3 separate regions of the Homo sapiens genome follow, and all the other regions are linked to region 1. Evidence: promoter capture Hi-C in 16 types of primary human blood cells and fetal thymus (Javierre and others, 2016). All regions are on one chromosome and are shown on one strand. The core of a region is centred on a gene start or on the middle of the fragment in contact, and the rest is flanking DNA. Distances in the headings are between cores, read along the strand shown. Region 1 holds the start of MED8-AS1 (MED8 antisense RNA 1). Region 2 holds the start of CCDC24 (coiled-coil domain containing 24). Region 3 overlaps ERMAP (erythroblast membrane associated protein (Scianna blood group)).

Evidence for each region. The method cuts DNA at HindIII sites, captures the fragments that hold promoters and counts their contacts. A CHiCAGO score of 5 or more calls a contact.
Region 2: a contact is called between the fragment with the promoter of CCDC24 here and the fragment with the promoter of MED8-AS1 in region 1, in 1 of 17 cell types (total B cells). The highest score is 5.1, in total B cells.
Region 3: a contact is called between a fragment that was not itself captured here and the fragment with the promoter of MED8-AS1 in region 1, in 1 of 17 cell types (erythroblasts). The highest score is 6.9, in erythroblasts.

What each region holds. Positions count from the first base shown.
Region 1 is chr1:43,383,694-43,386,355 of GRCh38, forward strand. It overlaps MED8-AS1 (MED8 antisense RNA 1), which reads left to right and starts at 1,356. Exons shown (of 2, transcript XR_001738027.1): 1 at 1,356-1,448; 2 at 1,591-2,033. MED8 (mediator complex subunit 8) reads right to left here. Exons shown (of 7, transcript NM_201542.5): 6 at 2,285-2,533; 7 at 224-1,413. The coding sequence ends at 1,349. The HindIII fragment of the contact is 5,225 bases long and covers 803-2,662 here.
Region 2 is chr1:43,990,251-43,992,912 of GRCh38, forward strand. It overlaps CCDC24 (coiled-coil domain containing 24), which reads left to right and starts at 1,349. Exons shown (of 9, transcript NM_152499.4): 1 at 1,349-1,496; 2 at 1,597-1,754; 3 at 1,962-2,137; 4 at 2,273-2,389. The coding sequence starts at 1,629. B4GALT2 (beta-1,4-galactosyltransferase 2) reads left to right here. Exons shown (of 7, transcript NM_003780.5): 7 at 48-918. The coding sequence ends at 198. RefSeq lists silencers at 1,503-1,612, 1,753-1,802. The HindIII fragment of the contact is 1,600 bases long and covers 685-2,284 here.
Region 3 is chr1:42,822,886-42,825,547 of GRCh38, forward strand. All of the region lies in intron 1 of ERMAP (erythroblast membrane associated protein (Scianna blood group)), which reads left to right. Among named protein-coding and RNA genes, the nearest start is that of SVBP, 6.8 kb to the left of the region's middle. The HindIII fragment of the contact is 2,034 bases long and covers 277-2,310 here.

The DNA of each region.
Region 1 (2,662 bases), core at 106-2,605:
CAAATGCCAAAGTACCAGTGTGTGACAGAACAGAAAAAAGGCAGCTGGAAGGTATGAGCAGGAGGGAAGTTTCAGGATTTTTAGATCAAAGCTAATTAAAGATACGGAAACTTTTTTATGGAGAACAAATTAGAACTGCCTTGCAGCACTCTTGAAACTGCCCCTCTGATCCCTATGTAGTGCTCTCATAAATTACTGTCAGACAACCCTGAGCCAGTGAACATCAATTTAAATAACTTTATTCAGAGGAATCCTTTGGTCCACTTCTGCTGACTCAACCCCTGCCCATGCCAACAAAGGAGTACTAAGAAAGGCAGGTTAGCCTGAATGTCTAAATTCAATTTGTTCAACTTTATAAAAGCAGGCAAAGCTACTGGGGGTTGCCCCCTCCCACCATCATTCTGGTCCACCATTTGGGCCACAGGCTTAGGGAAATGAAGGAAAGTCGTTTTCTTTGAAGGAAATCCTGGCCAAAGTCGAGAAAGTGGGCACCATTATGAGGTCAACTAAACCCTGATGGCAGTGTGAAGTGCAATTCCCTTCTCCCTCCAAAATAAGAAACATGAATCCAGGGGAAGGGGCTTTTTCGTGTGCTAAGGAAAAACCCTTTCCCACATAGTCCTGCCTGGCAGAGCCACTTCCTGAGAAAGCCTCGTGTGTATAAGGTGGGGTAAAGGATAGGGGACTTTATGACTATTTGACAGGTAAAAGCCAAGTTGGCTCCTTAGAGGATGGAAAGGAGAGCAGGCCCAAGCTTCACCAGAGCTGCAGGTGGGCATTTTTTTTTCCTTCCTGGCCCAGAAGCTTCTTCACCTTGCGCCTTAGAGGGATAGCCAGAATGAAACCCAGGCAGGAGGGCCTGCAAAAACAGTGTGCCTCTAAGAACACAGAGGTTGCTACAGTTTCTGGCAGCACAAAATAAGCATAGCCTTATTTGATCTTGTGTCCATCAGCTCACCATTGACGTGAGGCAGTATCAGATTAGGGTAAGTTCTGGATCAAGGACTGTGGAGGGTGGTGGGGAGAAGGATCTGTAGAAACTATCATTTATTGAATACCCATTATTTCATATACTGTACTAAGTGCTTTACATTCATTTCCTCATTTTAATCCTCACAACAACCCTATGAGGTAGGTATTATCACCATTTACAAATGAGAAACAGGCTCAGAAAAATTAGGTCACTTGTCCAAGGTCACACAGCTAGTCAGTGGTGGAAGTGGGATTTGTCTGCTGCTGAAAGCCCATGTTCTTTTTATTGTACCCATCTAGGTGAGCCTTGAGCAAAAGGTAATTTCACTGCCCAACTCTGCAAAGAGCACCAGGGAGTCGAGGTTGCCAGCCACACTCACCGCTGGTAGGGATGCATGGAAGCCGACTTGATGTTGGTTTTTATTCCACTTGGCATTTTCCCTGAAAGGAACATTAAAAAAGTCATCTTAAGCAAGGTAAGACTTTCATGACAAATCAGAAATGTGGTACCTCAGGTTCCCTCTGTCACTTCCTTTATCATCTCAGAACCTCTGCGGCATCTGACCCTGTTTGACAGAGGTCAGAAGTATGATTCTTCACCCAGCTGTCTCCCTGAAGGTGTCCAGGAGGAAAGAAGTGACATGGGAGAATAGTCTGTTCATCCACTCCTAGAACAGATAGCTAAACCTGTGTGACTCCCATTTAACGTCACAGGTAAAAGAGTACTATGTTCTCTCATTGTTTTTCTTTTTTTATATCATAATAAGTGCAGAATCTCTCTTTAATTGTCCCTTTTCCTAGACAGCTTGGAGGAAATAACTCTTCTAGCTGCCTGCATCTAGACTGTTCTAAAAATGAGTAGGAGAGAAGGCAGGAAGCCAAGAGCAAGAGAGGCAGGATACAGAGAAAAGAATACATGTAGGACTGGAAAACTGGCCTGCGTGTCAATTCCTGATGCACCTACCAAATGGTCTTAAGATCTGACTGCTGATTTCTCTACCTAACAAGAGACACTGACAACATATCTAATACCAGAATAAATGGGATAGAAGGATAGTTGACACAGAGATGTGAGATGCGGATGAGAAATTGGAGCAGTTTCTGTTACTCAAAGTTCTTCCTCACTCTCTGGTGCCTGTTGCAGAGTCTCAGATGAGATTTTTTTACTTCTGAAAATTATTTCCTGGGTCACAGTGAAAAGGAGAAATAGAGAAAACCTCTAGGTCTAGAGATGCTGGAGGCCCAGATAATCTAGCTTATTCCCTCCCACTCCTGCTCAAAGTCAGCTTCATTTCAACCCCTGCCACCTTACCTGGTTGACCTGCCTGAGCCATTTGTACCCCACTGAGCATTGGCTGCTGCTGGCTTGGAGCTCCTGCCATCTGCACCTGCTGTAATCCTGAGGTTCCTGCAAGGATCGTCCCAGCTCCTGGCTGGCCTGCCTGGCCAGGACCACTGCTGCCTGAAGGTCTCCAATTAGATAGTCCTTTCCCAAAGGCAACAGCTGCCACCAAGGCATTAGTGTCTGTAGGGTTAAAGGTCTGCTTGTTCGGCCGGAGACCTGAAGAAAAAGTAATGGGGATCCTGAAGTATGCTTCTGATGCAGGACTGAACGTGGCAGCTGGAAGACCAGTATGAGTGCCAGGGTTTGGAGTTCTGAATTCAGCAACATCTAGACTCCCTCACAGCC
Region 2 (2,662 bases), core at 99-2,598, 610 kb after region 1:
AGTTTACAGTTGTTAGCCCTGATGTGGACCATTTCCATCCTATCTAGGTTTACCAAGATTCAAAACACGAAGCTGACCATGAAGCGGGACGGCATTGGGTCAGTGCGGTACCAGGTCTTGGAGGTGTCTCGGCAACCACTCTTCACCAATATCACAGTGGACATTGGGCGGCCTCCGTCGTGGCCCCCTCGGGGCTGACACTAATGGACAGAGGCTCTCGGTGCCGAAGATTGCCTGCCAGAGGACTGACCACAGCCTGGCTGGCAGCTGCTCTGTGGAGGACCTCCAGGACTGAGACTGGGCTCTGTTTTCCAAGGGTCTTCACTAGGCCCCCTAGCTACACCTGGAAGTTTCAGAACCCACTTTGGGGGGCCTCCTGCCTGGGCAGGCTCTTCAAGTGTGGCCCTCTTTGGAGTCAACCCTCCTTCCCGACCCCCTCCCCCTAGCCCAGCCCCAGTCACTGTCAGGGTCGGGCCAGCCCCTGCACTGCCTCGCAGAGTGGCCTGGGCTAGGTCACTCCACCTCTCTGTGCCTCAGTTTCCCCCCCTTGAGTCCCCTAGGGCCTGGAAGGGTGGGAGGTATGTCTAGGGGGCAGTGTCTCTTCCAGGGGGAATTCTCAGCTCTTGGGAACCCCCTTGCTCCCAGGGGAGGGGAAACCTTTTTCATTCAACATTGTAGGGGGCAAGCTTTGGTGCGCCCCCTGCTGAGGAGCAGCCCCAGGAGGGGACCAGAGGGGATGCTGTGTCGCTGCCTGGGATCTTGGGGTTGGCCTTTGCATGGGAGGCAGGTGGGGCTTGGATCAGTAAGTCTGGTTCCCGCCTCCCTGTCTGAGAGAGGAGGCAGGAGCCCCAGGGCCGGCTTGTGTTTGTACATTGCACAGAAACTTGTGTGGGTGCTTTAGTAAAAAACGTGAATGGAGCAGCTCCCTTGTCTGTTTGGGGGTGGGGGTCGGGTCCCTGAACGTGGTTACCCTGAGTGTGTTGTGGTGGAAGGGCACTTGGGGAACCTGGCCCAACAAGTAAACCTGACCCGGGCCATCCTGGTTCTCCAAGCGCTGCCACTCCCTAGGCTTTCACTGGCCTTAAGGGGAAGTTTGTCCTTGCACTGCTTCCGGGACAGTGGAGGCGACGAAGTAATAAACCCGTGGACCCAGATTTCTCAGGTCTTAACACGTTCCCTGAGGCCTAAAGGTGCCCAGGGCCGAGCCCAAAGTGCTTGGGTCAGGGCTCGGTGGAGCGCCGAGGTGAGTCTGAACTCCCAGCCGGCACGCGCCGCCCGCCGGACCAAACACGGGAGGGGGCGGGGCCCTAGAGTCGCGGCGTGGTTTCCCGGGTGATGGCCACGCGGAAGAGGTGGGGCTAGGGCCCTGGTTCCCACTGCCTGGTTTCTGGGCCCCCGGCATCCGAGTCGGCCAAAAGCCGGGCAGAAGAGAGCGCCAAGGACTGGCAGTTCCGGAACGGGCAATCCCAGCCGAGGGGACCAGCGGCAGAGCACGGGTGGGGCTTGGGAGAGGGCGGGGCCCATAGAGGGGCGGGGTTTGGTGAGCGTTGCCGGCGGGCCCGCGGTACCTCCCGCACTCTGACCTGCGGCCCGTAGGTCCGAGCCGGGGACGGCGGCGTCGGTGGGTCATGCTCCGGCACTCCCCCTCGCTGTGGGAGCTGGTGGAGGAGCACGTTCCGCTCCGGGAGCGACGCGAAGTGAAGAGGATTCTGGGGGAGGCGGCGGTGGACCTGAGCCTGGAGCTGCGGGCGGAGGTGGGGAGAGGGAAGGTGGGCCACGCCCCTGGCCTGCCCCACGACTCGGGTGATTTCCCACCTCTGCGGGTCCCTGGCCCTGCCGGGTAACTCCCGAGATCCTATCCTGGTCTCCCCTTTGACTCCGCCCTCTCCCTCACTCCCCCAGCCCCCACCATTCCGGACACTCCCCTCCCCAGTCGCAAGGTATCCCAGCTCTCCTTGCAGGTGGCGATGTTACGGGCACTGCTCCAAGAGGCTCGATCCTCTCAAGCCCCCAGCTCCCGCCCCATCTCTGACCCCTCTTCTCTTCTGGCACCACCGCCTCTCCTAAAGGACCTCTTGCGCCAGGAGCTCCGGCAGTTGCTCCAGGGTCTCCGCCACAAAGCCATCTGTGAGGGCAGGTGGGAGCCTCAGGCCTGGGCCCTTTCCCTAGATACCAGGTGGGCTAGCGCTGCCCCTAACAAGGAGCCAGGGTTGCCTTTTCTGTGGTTTCCAGAAAGGAGCCTCTCAGCTTCCTTCCTGTGCACCTTCTGCAGGGACCAGGCCCAAGCTTGGGTCCAGTATAGCCCCAGGGTCCTGCACTTTGCCTTGGAGGAGCCCAGGTGTGATTTGCCAGAACAGGAGATATTCCAGATGAGAGGTGGTGGGCCCAGGTAAGGTGATGGTAGGAGAGAGGGATCTGTCCCTGCTTGGCAGAGGGCCCTAGCCCACTGGTGGGTTGCACCTGGCTCCATGCAGGAGATTCCAGTCACGGGCTGGGCACTTCCACCGCCACTTGTGATAGAGATTATCAGCCCATGAGGGCTACTGAAACCCAGAGGAAACACCTGCCTAGCCTGGGGACAGGCAAAGCTTCCTGGAGAAAGTGGTTTGATCTGCGTGTTGTAGTATGAGGAGCAGTTTTCAGGGAGATGAAAGAGAAGAGC
Region 3 (2,662 bases), core at 44-2,543, 560 kb before region 1:
GCCTGACTTATTTCATATAACGTAATGTTTTCTAGTTCCATCCATGTCACTTTGAATGATGGGATTTTATTCTTTTTAATGGCTATAAATATTTTAGATGTCTGGCTTAATAGAAGACAGCTGTATTCTCAAGCCAGCTATATCTTTCAATCTGCTGCAGTATGTTTTGTGGTTGAAGTGTATGCAATTGGAAAAGGAGCATTTCAGTAGCTTTTTCAGATAATCGTGGATATTCTTTGATAAGACACCAAAACTCAGCAAGTGGTAGTTTTTTAAAGCTTAGTTGTGACATGAAATCTGAAACCATAGCAATGACCTTTTTATACTCTATTACAGCAACACTCACAGTTTTTTCTTGCATTTTAAATGAATGTTTTACCCATGCAGGGTTTTGTCAACACACCCATTGGTCATTTGGAAATTGCTGAGTCACTGAGTTTTACAGATCTTCTAAATGTTGACACATTTCATTATACAACATCAAAAAATCACATTTATTAATATCAATGCCAATCTCATCAGAAAAGTCTTTTGCTATTGTGAGGGTATCAAGCAGCAGATAAAAATTTTCCAAAATTCTAATTTTTGCTCAAAAGATTGAATGTTCTCATTGACAACAAACACTGTCAGTTGCTTTTCCTGAAGTGACAGGTGCACTTTATTCATTTTGGAGAAAATGCCTGCCAAATACCCAAGTCTGAATAATTATACTTTGTCTTTCAGCTGTACTTTCAGGTAAGAATGGTGCTCCATGAGTCAAGCGATTACTTCAGCTCACAACTCAATCACTTAAGGTTTTTTCCTCGATAAAGTCATCATACTTTGATATGCAGCGTAACTGTTTATGCATCCTTCCCATTTTGTCACACAAACTATTAAAAAGATGTGTATCTAAGAGTTGAAATTTAATAAAATTTGTAACTTCTACTACAGTTTGGTGCCACTTCCTGATTTGTGCTAGCTGTTTTACCCACTATTGCTTTTGCAGTGTCCTTGAAAATGTCAATACCGTGAAAAAGGCAAATAACGTCTTTATTATGATGAATGTAGTTTTAACCTGGATGATAGGGCCTCAGGGACTTCAAGTGTTTGTGGACCACACATTAAGAACTGGTGCTCTAGAGAAATTCTTGCACATGTGAGCAGGAAATACCTATCAAGAATGTTCAGGGCACGAGGCCGGGCGCGGTGGCTCACGCCTGTAATCCCAGCACTTTGGGAGGCCGAGGCGGGCGGATCACAAGGTCAGGAGATCAAGACCATCCTGGCTAACACGGTGAAACCCCGTCTCTACTAAAAATACAAAAAAAAAAATAGCTGGGCGTGGTGGCGGGCGTCTGTAGTCCCAGCTACTCCGGAGGCTGAGGCAGGAGAATGGCATGAGCCCAGGAGGCGGAGCTTGCAGTGAGCCGAGATCGTACCACTGCACTCCAGCCTGGGCGACGGAGCGAGACTCTGTCTCAAAAAAAAAAAAAGAATGTTCAGGACAGTATTATTTATAAAAGCTAAAGCCCAGAAACAACCCACATTTCTATCATTAAGGGACGAGAGAAACTGTTGGTAGATTTATATAATGGTCTACTATATAGCAGTGAATGAATATCCTAGTGCTCTGTGAAACAACCTGGATTAATTTCAGTGTCTTAATTTGTACACCCCCAGAACAGAGTGTGAGGTGTGAGACAAGTACTTCAGTTCAAGAGTGTATTTAGGAGGTAATCCCAGGAAGCAGAAATGGGAATGAGCAAAAAAGGAAGAAAAGTCAATAAAAGGTGCAGTACGGAGCTACTTACCACTATGAACCACCGTGCTCACTCCCATTGGGAACACTCAGAGGAATCATGTCGAATACAGCTCAGAGCTGAAGGTGCAAGCCTGGAGCATTTTGTCTTGACTCCTCTCACTGTTGTTTATGTCTCCGAGGTGTTAGCTTTGGTGAACTTCTGGGCTGCACAGCCTTCCAAGGCTTTGTAGAAAGCCCCAAGACAGGCAAGCAGAAAAATGCCATGGCCTATGAGGTGACATGCTAGCAGCTTGCCTGCAAGTCTCAGCTACACCAAAATTGGGTGGGCTGAGGGGACATGGTGTGGGCCACCACAGATGTCTGCTAGACTCAGAAGCTAATGTTGAATAAAAAAAGGGAATAATTGGGAATTATGTACAATGGGCTCCATCTTTATAAAGTTCAAAGGACATAAAAATGTGTAATGTATTGTTAATGATATAATTATGGAGATTATGAACATACAGCTAAGGATATTATGAAAGCAAGACAGGCGGGAAGCGTTTATCACATGTTGGAAAACAGCAAGCTTGCTTATCAGAAGGCACATGTCAGGGTGTAGCTGGAGATAAAGATAGTGAGTTAAAGAAGGTGGTTAATTGGTGGATGTCTTTGAAACCAATCTTCCAATTTACTCTGATTTGAAAAGTAAAGGGGGAAGGTTTTCAGAAAGAATGTGATAGGATCAAAACGCATCAGAGGGAATTACTATTGGCAGCATTGGAGGAAAAGGGAGTGGAGGGGCAAACGTGCCTCCTACCCGGTCAGTCATACTCAGTGGTTCCCTCATTTTTGGGAGCCTCCTCTTTGCTCTGTTCTTTTATCAGGGGCATACAGACAGGGTGTGGCTTGCTGGTTTACAGGGACAGCGAGAAGGGA